Regions from separate parts of the Homo sapiens genome. Here region 2 is linked to region 1. Evidence: promoter capture Hi-C in 16 types of primary human blood cells and fetal thymus (Javierre and others, 2016). All regions are on one chromosome and are shown on one strand. The core of a region is centred on a gene start or on the middle of the fragment in contact, and the rest is flanking DNA. Distances in the headings are between cores, read along the strand shown.

The links. Contacts are between HindIII fragments. The CHiCAGO score rates a contact against its expected background, and 5 or more counts as called.
Region 2: a contact is called between a fragment that was not itself captured here and the fragment with the promoter of OR6M1 in region 1, in 1 of 17 cell types (endothelial precursors). The highest score is 5.2, in endothelial precursors.

Annotation. Positions count from the first base shown.
Region 1 is chr11:123,802,115-123,809,146 of GRCh38, reverse strand. OR6M1 (olfactory receptor family 6 subfamily M member 1) reads left to right here and starts at 2,798. Exons shown (of 1, transcript NM_001005325.1): 1 at 2,798-3,739. The coding sequence starts at 2,798. The coding sequence ends at 3,739. All of the region lies in intron 2 of LOC105369544 (a long non-coding RNA gene), which reads right to left. The HindIII fragment of the contact is 4,667 bases long and covers 1-3,499 here.
Region 2 is chr11:124,051,689-124,059,239 of GRCh38, reverse strand. It overlaps the pseudogene OR10D5P. Among named protein-coding and RNA genes, the nearest start is that of OR10G7, 14 kb to the right of the region's middle. The HindIII fragment of the contact is 2,119 bases long and covers 3,509-5,627 here.

The DNA.
Region 1 (7,032 bases), core at 1,549-4,048:
TTGTTAAATTTACTTTTCTGTGTATAGTCGCTCTAATCTTTCAATATTCTTAATGAATGGAGTCAGAAGCCAATCTGGAATGATTCAGGTTAAGTATGCATTAGAAATATTCCTCAGTTAAAAATTAATCTTTTCATGACTTATTGTTATTAATTCAGATAAGAAACAATTAGTGTTAATTGTTCATCTCCTTTCTTAAAAGAATCAATTTTTTAGCAAGAATCTATTAGGTATTGTCACATATATGATTTAATTTAAACCTCATGGCAGGTCATTTTGAACATTAGAATTATCTTTATTTCTCTGATAAAGAAGCTATGACTCAGAGGTGACGAATTTAATTCAATAAAAAAGAGCTGCAAGTGGTAAAAACCAGGATTGGAACCCAATTCTTCAAACTATCTCACATTAATCTAATTAATACTTGAGTCTTAAAATGTAAAATATACTTAAAGTAAAATAAAAAAATAAGAATAAAGGTAGTGCTTATCTCATAGGTTATAATGAAAATTAAAAGAGTAAACTGCTTTCGATCATGTCTGGCAACTACTAAAAACTCAATAAAGATCTATTTTTATTGAAAACCGAAAAAAATTGTAAAATATAATTTGCCTGCTGAAAAACCCCATGGAAATAATAATACAAGACACACAAAAAACAGGTAACAAAATGCCTTGTATAGAAAGTTCATATGTAATTTCCCATGCTATTATATTAGTATATGTATTCATGATTAGCCACTTTTATGCAGTAACTTAGCAAATAATTTAGGAGTTTATTTACTGGAGAATAAAAGAAGTTACAATCTTTGGGGTGGGTCAGGGAGTCAAAAAGTACTGATAGTAGGACCCTAAGACTTTAATGGACCTTTTAAATGTGCAGCCCAGCATTCTAAGATGAGAAAACTGAAGTTCAGAGCATAAAATAAGATTTATTTAAAAAAAAAAAGAGCACAGTATTTCTATGCCATTGAGGCATCAGCTACCCCAGCCCAGCTATGATATAGAACTATTCCCTCAGACTAAGAACCCATGAAAGAGATCTGTAAGTGATTTTACATTATCAACTGCTCTAGTAAAGTAAAATCTAATATTATAAGAATAAATCTTTCTTGGGTTTTTGTACTGAGTAACAAATAGTGAGGGCAAACACCCTATTGGAAAAGATTCTCGGGAATTAATAAGACAAGTGCACAAAAAATTTATGTGGAAGAATATTTATTTGATCATTATTTATACAAGCAAGAAATGTAAACCATCTAAATTTTCAGCATTAAGCAACTGGCTAAATATATCACAGTCCCACTGATAGAATCAAACACTATACAATTCTCAAAAATGATTGTGAAGACTTCTAGGAGTTGACATGGAAAGATGCTAAATTGTTTTAAGAAAAAGGAAGAAAGAAAGAAAAGAGAAAGAAAGGAAAAGGAAAAAAGCTAATTACAAAATAGTCTCCTAGTATGATTTATTTTAGATACACAAGTATGTACTTTGAACTTTAAAATAGCCTAAAACTATATACACCAAAAGGTCACTGTATCTCTAAGAAGTTCGATTACAGATTATAATTTTCTTTTCTGCACTTGCATTTTTTAATTCTTTGCACTAAAAATGTCTTTCTTGTATAATAAAAAGAAAAATAAAATAAGAGGGTAAATTTTTTATCTTGGAGGAAAGTGCAGGGGGAGTTTGGAAAAAGAAAAAGAGGTGGCCACGATCAGTAGCAAAGAGTGGAGGAGATGCTAACTTATCTATTAAGGATTTATTAAGGAGGTGCTAAGTGATATCTAGATAAATAAAGCACCAAGGTCAGAGTTAAAGCATGGGCTGGTTTTTACCTAAAATGGGGAGGTCTCTGCAAAATAATCATTTCTCACATTGTGGGACAAAGAACAAACTAGATGATCTTGAAGTACAGTTTCACAATGTCGGCTGACAAAGTAAATGAAGTGAGGTGAATTACCTCTATGTTGCCTTCCTGTATATAATTTGTGCCTCTCTGATGTTATCACACTATATACGGTGCTCTCAAATGATCAGCCAGATATATGATACATATTAGATACTGCACAGAACTTGTAGAAGGTAGGTTTTAGACACAAAAGCATAATCTAAGGGCGAGACACTCATTATTTCTTTTTGAGGTGTCATCTAAAATGATTAATAGGAACCGTCAGCTGTTGTTCCTTTTAATAATCTCTGGACAGTTTTCACAGATCTATACATGCTAGGGAAAGATGTTAAGAATTCGGAGACTCTGGATATCTACAAATGTAGAAAAAACTAAATCAACCTTTATTAAATGACAACCACCAAAGTGAAAGAAAGTTTGTTATAGAAAAGACTTTACGTTTCTAAAGGATTTGCCACTCAGGAACTGTAAACCAGAATAATAGAAGGGCATTCTGATTAAGTATACATCAGTACATTAGCACATTTTTAGCTGAGAAAATGAAGCCAAAAGAATAGAAAAGATTAGAAATTTCATCAATGAAAAGGAATAGAATTTTATAACTAGAAGGAAGTTGAGTTTTTTTTATCCAGCCTTATTCCGTCATTTTACAGGAAAAACAAACAAACAAACAAAAAAAAACCATGTACCTAAATAGTATCTTGACTTTCCCAGTGTGGCACAATAATTAACTTGCAGATAGAGGACTACATACCAGGTCTACATCTCCCAATATAAGCCACTCTCCGCAATACATTCTCAGCAGATATTTACAAAATTACCTAAGCTGATTTTCCTTTTCTTGTTTCTTCAGGGAAACCCTGCCCACCATATAGTAGTTGTCATGGGAAACTGGAGCACTGTGACTGAAATCACCCTAATTGCCTTCCCAGCTCTCCTGGAGATTCGAATATCTCTCTTCGTGGTTCTTGTGGTAACTTACACATTAACAGCAACAGGAAACATCACCATCATCTCCCTGATATGGATTGATCATCGCCTGCAAACTCCAATGTACTTCTTCCTCAGTAATTTGTCCTTTCTGGATATCTTATACACCACTGTCATTACCCCAAAGTTGTTGGCCTGCCTCCTAGGAGAAGAGAAAACCATATCTTTTGCTGGTTGCATGATCCAAACATATTTCTACTTCTTTCTGGGGACGGTGGAGTTTATCCTCTTGGCGGTGATGTCCTTTGACCGCTACATGGCTATCTGCGACCCACTGCACTACACGGTCATCATGAACAGCAGGGCCTGCCTTCTGCTGGTTCTGGGATGCTGGGTGGGAGCCTTCCTGTCTGTGTTGTTTCCAACCATTGTAGTGACAAGGCTACCTTACTGTAGGAAAGAAATTAATCATTTCTTCTGTGACATTGCCCCTCTTCTTCAGGTGGCCTGTATAAATACTCACCTCATTGAGAAGATAAACTTTCTCCTCTCTGCCCTTGTCATCCTGAGCTCCCTGGCATTCACTACTGGGTCCTACGTGTACATAATTTCTACCATCCTGCGTATCCCCTCCACCCAGGGCCGTCAGAAAGCTTTTTCTACCTGTGCTTCTCACATCACTGTTGTCTCCATTGCCCACGGGAGCAACATCTTTGTGTATGTGAGACCCAATCAGAACTCCTCACTGGATTATGACAAGGTGGCCGCTGTCCTCATCACAGTGGTGACCCCTCTCCTGAACCCTTTTATCTACAGCTTGAGGAATGAGAAGGTACAGGAAGTGTTGAGAGAGACAGTGAACAGAATCATGACCTTGATACAAAGGAAAACTTGACACTGGTATACACTACATTAAATACATTTCTTTTTTTATTATTTTTTTTAAGTTCCAGGGTACATGTGCAGGATGTGCAGGTTTGTTACATAGTTAAACGTGTGCCATGGTGGTTTGCTGCACCTATCAATCCATCACCCATGTACTAAGCCCAGCATGCATTAGTTCTTTTTCCTAATGCTCTCCCCAACCCCCAGCCCTCCCCCAATGGCACACATTTCTTATCTTCAACACATTCTTTCTGCACGACTATGGTGGTGTTTGGTGTGCCAGAAACTGAGATGGTGCCCCAGGATGAGCAATGATCATGCCAAACTGAAGGAAAACTCTGATCATGTCTGGGAGAAAATTCAATCCATGAAGTATCTTGCATATACCACGAAGGGAGGCTGGGTGCAGTGGCTCACACCTGTAATCCCAACATTTTGGAAGGCCAAGATTGGAGGATTCATTGAGCCCTGGAAGTTGAGGCTGCAATGAGCTGTGATTGCACCACTACACTCCATCCTGGGTGGCAGAGTGAGACCTCGCTTTTCTGTTGTTTTGTTTTGTTTTTGTTTTTGTTTTTAAATACCATGAAAGAAACCTAACAGGGATTCAGAGATCTCCAATTCTAGTCCTGGCTAAGTTCACTTATTTTCCACAGATTTTGACCATGCTACAACTTATCCGGTCCTCAATGTCTCTCTCCATTTTTAAATAAAATAATAGATAATAAAATATCACTACTTTTAGTAAGGCATGTAAAGTTAAAAAATATTTTCTTATTAGGCACTCTTGAATATTTCTAGAGACTTGGTTTTAACCTCTATTGGCCAGATCAAGTAAAGATGATGTGAGAAGTGAGAGAAAAAGAGGTATGACTCAGGAAGGTACCAAGCCTCTAGCTATACAGAGTGAAAAAGAAAGATATTTGATGAGAAAAGGAACACAGGGCCAGGCGCGGTGGCTCACACCTGTAATACCAGCACTTTGGGAGGCTGACGCAGGCAGATCACTTGAGGTCAGGAGTTCAAGACTAGTCTGGCCAACATGGTGAAACCCCGTCTCTACTAAAAATACAAAAATTAGCTGTGTGTGGTGGTGCATGCCTGTAGTCTCAGCTGCTCAACAGGCTGAGGCATGAGAATTGCTTGAACCTGGGAGGCAGAGGTTGCTGTGAGCCAAGATCAAGCCACTGCACTCCAGCCTGGGTGACAGAGTGAGACTTCGTCTAAAAAAAAAAAAAAACAGAAGAAGAAAAAAAAAAGAAAGGAAAATAGGAGGGGTTTCTTAGGGGTGGACCTATTGAACTGGAGGTTTTTGAGGGTCATCCAGTTATAAGTTGTTCTATTTTGCTGAAGCACTAGAAATAGCTCCCTTGGTATCTTTTTATGGGCATTTGGCAATAAAATAAAGACTTGCTAGACAATGAGTTCCCAACAGTTGTATTAAAGGCCAGATTTGTTGGTCCTTTTCTCGGTCACCTAAATCTTTTGTGATTTAAATCTCTCTGGCTCTTTCTGGCTCTAAAAATAAATAAATAAATAAAAAAGTTTTAGTTTAACTGTATGGTTTAATTACCATTGTATATATTATGGTCATTTTTCCCCAGAACTCATTAGGCAGTCAGGCATTTATTCATAGAAGATGTGCTGAGCACACCTGAATTATGATCCTGGGCAAGTTATCGAAACTTTCTGTATCTCAGTTTCTTACTTATCTACAAAATGAGAATTTCAACGGTGCGGGGCTAAAGTAGGATTAACCTAAAAGCACTTATACCAATTGTATGATACAGAAATGCTGAATGAATATTATTTATCTTTTTTAGGGCCCTGTGTAAAATTCAATGGGAGATGCTGATGATACAAAGAGAAACAGGACATGATCTCCACTCCTAAGTTATTCACATTTTAGCTTGACAGAAAAGAATATACTAGAAAATTTTATGAATGATAAATTGTAAAAATAAATGAATTAATACTTCTGATATTGGCCATGGTGGAGTAACAGATATTTGATTTTATCTTTTGACTTAGGCAACTAGAAAATGACAAAAATACATAAAGCAAACCATTTCACACATTGTCTAACAAGCAATACAAGATTGCAATTATTGAGAGAAGAAAAACAAAACAAGGTGAGCCTTAAAAGTGCTCCAGTTTGCAACCTGGGTGCGGTCTCCTCCCCTGCAGTCTATGGGGAGTATTCAAACAGAGGCTGGAAGTTTCTATGAGTAAGAAAATAGAGATCAGTTTGGGGAGGCCAGGGCAACTTGAAGTTACAGGCAAGACGACCAGAAATGAAAGAGTTGCATAGAAATAGAACTCTGGAGATAGGCAGAAGGATCCCCTGAAGACTTTGGCTGAATATAGAGCTAAGCAGTCATGAAAAGAAATTACCTGAAGATCTGAAAGGATCCACGAGAAATCAACAGGCCAAATAATTTCTGGTGTTCACATAGGGATAGAAATAGTTTGTGTTTCTTTCAGCCAGAGTAAAAAGACCTTTTAATATTAGGGTATTAGGTAGAGTAAGGGGGATAAATTATCTCTAGTGCAAAGACAGACCTAGCTTTTTCCTAAAAGGCTTTCAAAACAAGACTGAAAAGATCAAACTAGTCCACAAGTAATTGCCTAGGAGAACCAAGTCTAACACAACTTAAAAGAATACAACAAAATATATAATTTAATAATTTAATATCACAATATCCAGCATCCAAACAAAAATTTCTAAGTATATAAAGAAGCAGGATATTGTGATACATAACCAGAAAGAAAATCATCAAAAGAAGCCAATCTGGAAATGATGGGAATTCACAGGAAAAGAATATTTAAATAGCTATGTGCCCAAGAATTTAGACTGTAAAGTGATTTAACAATTAAATTATAAAAATTATTAATATTTAAAATAATTTAAAGCGTTTCTTATATAAATATTCTCATATAGTAGATATCATCATAATTATTTGTCCTGCACACTTTTATAACTTTAGATGTCTTTCTTGTATTATTTTATTTTTTGCTAGCATCCATTATTCTTACAGAGTTGGCCATGATGATCCCATATCTTTAAGTTATTAGATGAAGAGCTTTGTAGGAAATGTTATTTGGCTCAATACAATGCACATGATCTATTTTTTAAATGGCTATAAAAGATAGTTTTCATTCATTCTTCTTTCCTTTGCGCACAGGATAACAGGTAGGAGATGTGACCGAATTTCTTCTTGGCCACACCAATCTGTGCAAAGGCCAAAATAAAATTTCAAATGTCACTGGCCCTTGTTCACCTCACCTAGGTGCATACCATAA
Region 2 (7,551 bases), core at 3,319-5,818, 250 kb before region 1:
GATATCCCTAGAGAAAAGAAAAGGAAAACATAAAATTATCTCTACTTGCAGATGACATAACTGTGCATACAGATAATCCTAAGGAATCCACAAAAAAATACTAGAATAAAGGACTTCAGCAAAACAGGATACAAGATCTATATGCAAAAATCAGTTGATTGAATTTCTATATATTGGCTATTAAAAATCTTAAATGGAAATTAAGAACACAATTCCATTTACAGTAGCACCAAAGGAATAAATACCTAGGAATACATTTAAACAAGGAAGTAAAATCCTTGCACCTTGGAAACTATTAAACTAAAAAGAATTAAAGAAGATCTGGATGAATGGAAAAAGATCCCATGCTCATGGGTTAGAAGAATAAATATTGTTGAAACAACACGAATTTACAGATTCAATGCAATCCGTATCAGAATCCAGTTATCTTTTCTGTAGTTGATAAGCTGATTCTAAAGTTCATATGGAATTCCAAAAATCTGTCAAAACAATCCTGAAAGAAGTAGAAAGTAGGAGTAATTACACTTTCCAATTTCAAAACTTACTAAAAACCATGGTAATCAAGACTGTGACAGCAGCATAAGTATAGAAATATATGTCAATGGAAAAGAACTGAGAGTATAGAACAAAATCAAGACATGTATCTATGGTAAATTGATTTTCAACAACGGAGCCAAGACCATTCAATAGGAAAGAAGTCTTTCAGCAAATGGTCCTGGTACAACTAGATATTCGCAGGTAAGAGAATGAATTTGAACCCTTAACTCATACCATTTATAAAAACTACTCAAAAAGAATCATAAAACTAAATGTAAGAACTAAACTATAAAACTCTTAAAAGAAAACATGGGCATCATGACCTTAGACTTGGCAATGATTTCTTAGATATGACACCAAAAGCACAAATAACAAAAGAAAGATAAACTGGACACCACTGAAATTTAAAGCTTTTATGCATAAAGGGTACTATCAAGAAGGTAAAAAGACCATTCACAGCATGAGAGAAAAGACTTGCAAATTATATGTCTGAAAAGGATCTGGCATCTGAGAATATATAAAGAATCATTACAATTCAACAACAAAAAGGCAAACAAACCAATTAGAAAATTGACAAATTACTTGAATAGACATTTTATTTTCTGAAGAGGACATACAGATGGCCAACAAACATGTGAAATGATGCTCAATTTCATTCATCATCGAAAAAATTCAGATCAAAACCACAATGATACACTGTATCATAGCCACTAGAATGGCTACATAAAATTTTTAAAAAGTGTTGGCCAAGATGTAGTAAAAACAGAACACTTCTACTTTGCTAGAATGTAAAATGGTGCAGCCTCTGTGGAAAATAGTTTGGAGATTCCTCAAAAGAGCAAACATAGAATTACTCTATGATCCGGAGGTCAGGAGACTGAGACCATCCTGGCTAACATGGTGAAACCCCATCTCTACTAAAAATACAAAAAAAAAAAAAAATTAGCGGGGCGTGGTGGCGGGCGCCTGTGGTCCCAGCTACTTGGCAGGCTGAGGCAGCAGAATGGCGTGAACCCGGGAGGTGGAGGTTGCAGTGAGCCGAGATTGCGCCACTGCCCTCCAGCCTGGGTGACAGAGTGAGACCCCGCCTCAAAAAAAAAAAAAAAAAAAAGAATCACTCTATGATCCAGCAATTTCATTAGTAGGTATATATCCAAAAGAACTAAAAACAGGTGTTCAAACAAAACATACACACAAGTGTTAATAGCAGTACTATTCAAAATACCCAAAGGTAGAAATAACTCAAATGTTAATCAACTGATGAATGGAAAAACAAATTGTGGTGTACCCATGCAGTGAAATATTATTTGACATAAAAAAAATGCTAGAACATAGATTAATCATGAAAATATTATACTCATTTAAATAAGCCAGTCACAAAAGACTGGCTTTGAAGGTTCATATTATATGATTCAACTTTTATGTAATGTCCAGAATAAGCAAGTCTATAGATATAAAAAGTTGATTAGTGTTTGCTTACTAAGGGTGATGTGGGAACAGGGAGGTAATGGTTAAAGGGTATAGGACATTTTCTGTGGTGATTAAAATGTTCTAAGATTGACTGTGGTAAAGGTGGTACATATGTAAATATATGAAAAACCATTGAATTGTACACTTCAAATTCACAAATTATTTGGTGTGTGATTATATCTCAAAAAAGCTATTTAAAAAATTATGGCAATTGAAAATTCTTGATACATGATTAAAACAAGAAAATATATATATGAGCTAATCACAACTATAAATCTCTCTAAAATATATACATATATAGATACATAATATAAATATAGATATAGATATAGATGACATAGATAGAAATGAAAAAAATTTAAACAAGAAGTCAGAAACCCTAATTCCAATTTAATCACTAATGAGAGAGGTAGGAAAAATGACAAAATATTAACAGTGGTTATCTCTTGGTGGTAGGATCAGTGAGTAATTTCTACTCATTTTACTTTTTTGCAGTGTCCTAGTTTTCTTTGAAGCTATTTACATGAGAAAACAATGACTATTATTTTTGAAGGCCCATAAGTTCTGGAATTCAAATTTAGTCCCTGACTGAATGAAAGCAAACTTGTAATCCTCTTACAGAATTGAAATTGTTGTTATAAAGAAATAATATGTTTACCTGAGAGACAGCCTATACTAATACATCTTTTTGGATATATGGGTACTAATTGACTTCTAAAGAGATTTTATTTTCTTTCTTTTTTTTTTATTTTTAAGACAGTGTCTCTCGTTCCATCGCCCAGGCTGGAGTGCAGTGCTGTGATCTTGGCTCACTGCAGCCTCCACCTCCCAGGTTCAGGCGATTCTCCTGCCTCAGCCTCCTGAGTAGCTGGGACTACAGGTGCCCACCACCACGCCTGGCTAATTTTGTATTATTAGTAGAGACGGGGTTTCACCATGTTGACCAGGCTGGTCTTGAACTCCTGAGCTCAAGTGATCTGCCTGCCTCAGCCTCCCAAAGTGCTGGGATTACAGGCGTAGGCCACCATACCCAGCCAGATAATTTCTTGGTATCAGACTCAGACATATGTCATCCATCAAAATATAGACTCAAAAAAAGTTATAGAAATCAATGGAGCAAATTTAATGTACTAGATTTGCTGGCAAATTGAAGAATATTCTGTGTAAACCGAAAAGAAGCTCCTGAGAGAAGTATTTATGTTACCATTTAGACACTACAGAAGCAGCATTAGCACATGGTTAAGACGCTTTGGGTCACATTTTCGCCCAGCAAGTTTTTAACTCCATGACACTGCAGAAAGATCTCAGCCTCTCAGTGCCTTAATTTTCCCTCGTAAATCGAGATAATAGTATTATCTACTTCATATGATTATTATAATCATTACATGTATCAGTATTTGTAAATAGCGCCTGGTACTCAGTCATCAAACAAAATATAGGAGCTAATTGCCCCCAGATAAATTCAAGACAAAGCTGTAAAGACAGACCAGGATATAAAGCTTACCTTCCACAATTATGTACTCCTTGAATGAGCACCTTTCTCAGTGCCAGCTTTACACCTTTGTTTCTCAAAGTATATATCAAAGGATTCAGGGAAGGGATAACAATATTATTCAACACCTGAACCACAGAGTCCAGCCAAGGGCTGGAGGCAGGTCGGAGATAAATGAGGACTATTGGTCCATAGAAGAGCAGGATGGACGTCAGATGGGCACTGCAGGTTGAGAAGGCTCTGCGCCTACCTTCTGAGGAACTGATTTTCAGTATAGAGATAACAATGCAAGCATAAGAGGTGAGGATAAGAAGAAAACACATGAGCGCAACAACACCTACGTTGATGAAACTCACTGTCCGTGCTAGAGAGGTGTCTGCGCAGGCCAGGGGCAGCACCACCGGAATATCACAGAAAAAAATTGTCCACTTCATTGGGGCCACAGTAGGATAACTTAAAGATGAGGAGTGTGAGGACAGATGCATGCAGACAGCTCCCCGTCCAGGTGCCTAGCGTCAGGAGGGCACACACCCTGCGTTTCATGATGACCGTGTATGGCAAAGGGTGGCAGATGGCTGCAAATCGGTCATAGGCCATCACAGTGTACAGGAAACACTCGGTGCAACCCAGGAAATGGTGAAAGAAGAGCTGGGAGGCACAACCCTGGAAAGAGATGGTGCAGCTTTGTCCCACTAAGCAGAGCATCATTTTGGGGGAACTCACTGAAGGGAAAAATATGTCAAACACAGACAGGTTTCCCAGGAAGAAATACATGGGGGTGTGGAGGTTGGAGAAAGTGAGGACGGCCAGAAGAATGAGTAGGTTCCCCAGCAAGGTGAAGAGGTAGAAGGCCAGAAATAAGACAAAAAGCACATTTTCCATCCCCTTTGTATGAGGGATTCCCATCAGGGGGACCTCAGTTACTGGAGTGTGATTCTTTATCTTCATGTCAAATTAGTCCTGGAACATCAAACAATGGCCTCACTGAGATGAGTTTTTCCTGCAAAAAACTCTTTATAGAGCCTATCGCAAACTGATAATAAGTATATAGAGTGGAGAACTTCTAAATAAGACTCAGTTCAATCCTGTCATTAATTATTGAGTGACATTTGGGTAAGTTATTAATCTATTTTTCATCTGTTTCCTCATAAGTAAAATGAAGAGACAACACTAGAGTTGATATAGAAGAGAAGGTGTAGAATAAACTTTACAACTGGAAGTATCTGAGTTTACATACTAAACACGCTGCCCACTCTGACATCAGATGACCTTGAAAAAAACTCTTTAAATCTTTTCTGAATATATATAAATAGTAAAATAATATATTATGGTTCCTGTGTACATTAATGCATTGATGTCTGCAAAGTACCCATATAATTTTGGCTCCTACCCATCTTTGTTAAAAAATTTATTCATCAAATTATTTAATGTGTGCCTTATTCCACAGCATTTCTCTAAGTTGACTTGTAGCAGTTCTGAGATTACCCATTCATGTGACTGATCCGGGAGGCAGCTTTCTCAATCAGCAGCTAGAGTAACTGAAAACTGAGAATTGTCTAATGGGTGTAAAACAGAAAGGAAGCCTGGGCATGGCGGCTCACACCTGTAATCCCAGCAGCTTGGGAGGCCAAGGTGGCAGGATCACTTGAGCCCAGGGATTTGAGACTAGCCTAGGCAATACAGTGACGCCTTGTCTCTTCAAAAATTTAAAAAAAAAGGAAAAGAAAAAGAAAAAACTAGCTGAGTGTGGTGGTGTATGTCTGTAGTCCCAGCTACTTGGGAGGCTGAGGTGGGGAGATCCTTTAAGCTGAAAAGGCAGAGATTGCAGTGAGCCAAAATCATGCCACTGCACTCCAGCCTGGGTGACAGAGTGAGACCCTGTCCCAAAAATAACTTAAATAAAAATAAAGAAATAAAAGAATAGAAAAGATGATATGTAGGTAGGAAAAAGCAATAGATAATTACTGATATTAAAAACAGCCATTTCTTTTAATAGAGTTTAGTGTCCAATAGCAATTATATCTGTGACTTGACTGCAAATAATCATCATTTTTCCTAGAATTAGCTTTATAATTCCCCATTATCACTTTACATCTTATTCATTTCCTAAAATTTCTAAGGTTAAGCTTCATTAATCAGGTAATAGCTCAATAAAATACCATGGAGTCAACTAAGTCAGATTTAGCCCAAAGTCAAACAGAGCCAATTCCCACGTTCTTCCCACCTTCCTCTAGTGCGTAGAACTCATCAGAAGATGAGAGGGGAGCACTCCAGAGAAAAGGCACTCACAGACTGAAGGGAAATGTGGCTGTCCTGGGCTGAAAACCAGGCCCTACGTCCACCCAGCCCTGTTTCCTTTGCTTTTAGGTGCTGTGGATCATCTGTGGCTCTGGGGCTAGAAAAGCCGAATGTTCCTCTTTTTCAGACTCAGCCACCCAGGCCAGAAAATCTCAGTGCCCCTGGCCCCTGAATGAAGTAGCAGCAATCAAGCCCTCAAGAGTGAATAAAAGTCTTCAGTTCCTTTGGGACCCTCTTCCCTAATGGGCACTAAGGAAGTGTGGAACCAAGGAAGCAATTAGACTGGAGGCGTTCCTCTCTTCCCTTCTCTTTCTCCCCACTGCATCTACCTCATTAATTCTTAGACTGAAATGCAATTATACAGTGGTATTTAGTTATATTCAGTTTAAAGCTCTTTAATTAACAATAATTCTTGGGCTGTTTTTCCTCTAGGAGCGAGCCATCCATGAAGTTCAGATGTTTGAGATTGCCCAGTGATCCTTTACCTGGAGAATCTGGGTTTGAAGAAAGAGCCAGAAATTAGGAAAGCAACCACTTAAACAGGCAACAATCCCATCTGATGCTAAAAACAAAACAAAACACAGCTGCACCTGTTTTTTTCTACAATTTGCTTTATAATCCCCCATTATCACTTCCACAACTGATTGAATTCATATTTTATTCATTTTATTTTTTTAGTCTCCTCTTAAAAAAAAAACAGGATACATGTGCAGAATGTGCAGGTTTGTTCCATAGGTATACGTGCCATGGTGGTTTGCTGCACCTATTGACCCGTCCTCTAAGTTCCCTCCCCTCACCCCCACCCCGTAACAGGCCCTGGTGTGTGTTGTTCCCCTCTGTGTCCATGTGTTTTCAATGTTCAACTCTCACTTATGAGTGAGAACATGCACATTTTCTCTTTATTTTCCTTTAAGACTGCTACTGACATTAATTTTAGCATACATTAATTACTGTAACTTGGTTGGATGTATATTTTAAGAATTCAGTCTGCTGACTGCTGTGTAGAGGATGGATCAGAGTGGACAAGGGTAGATTAAGTACATCTGTGAGCATGTTATTTTTACTGGCTAACAAACAAAAAGCAAATGGGTTTATTAAAAATGTTATGACTAAAATCCCTTTGAGAAAATATAGAAGGCACAGAAATTACAACTATACTGTTGTATAAGTAAGTTTATCAGCATTTTTATAATTATTGTGCTTCTTTATGCCAGAAAAAGTACAGAAGAGACTGCCACCTCCATGTTTTAAAACAGTAATGACTGCTTACTGAGAATCTTTCTTTTTTAAAAACCAGACTGCCCAAGGCCCCTTTGTTTTATTCTTGCATTGGCCCCATTAGTTAAATTTTCTTTTAAAGACAAAAATAGGGCTCAAATAGTTAAAACAGTTGCCAAAGTTGACTCCAAAAGTCAATCATAGAGCTTGGATTTGAGTTTTAGTCTGACTGCATTTAACATTTATGCCCAATTCTAACAAAATAGAATAAATATTTTGAATACGAATTTAAAAAGTAAACATGCAGAGTCTCTCATTCCTACCCATTTTCTTGTTCTTTAGTTTTGTGTTAGATCAACATAAAATCTTAAATTTTTCTAACTAGTGATAATTTCTATGTGTTTAAAAGCTTTATTGAGAAGTAATGTATATGTCATAAAAGTTCACCCATTTTAAATGTACAATTCAGTAAATACATATTTGCAAAGAATATATATTTACGGAGTTTTCAGCTATCACCACAGCCTAGTTGTAGA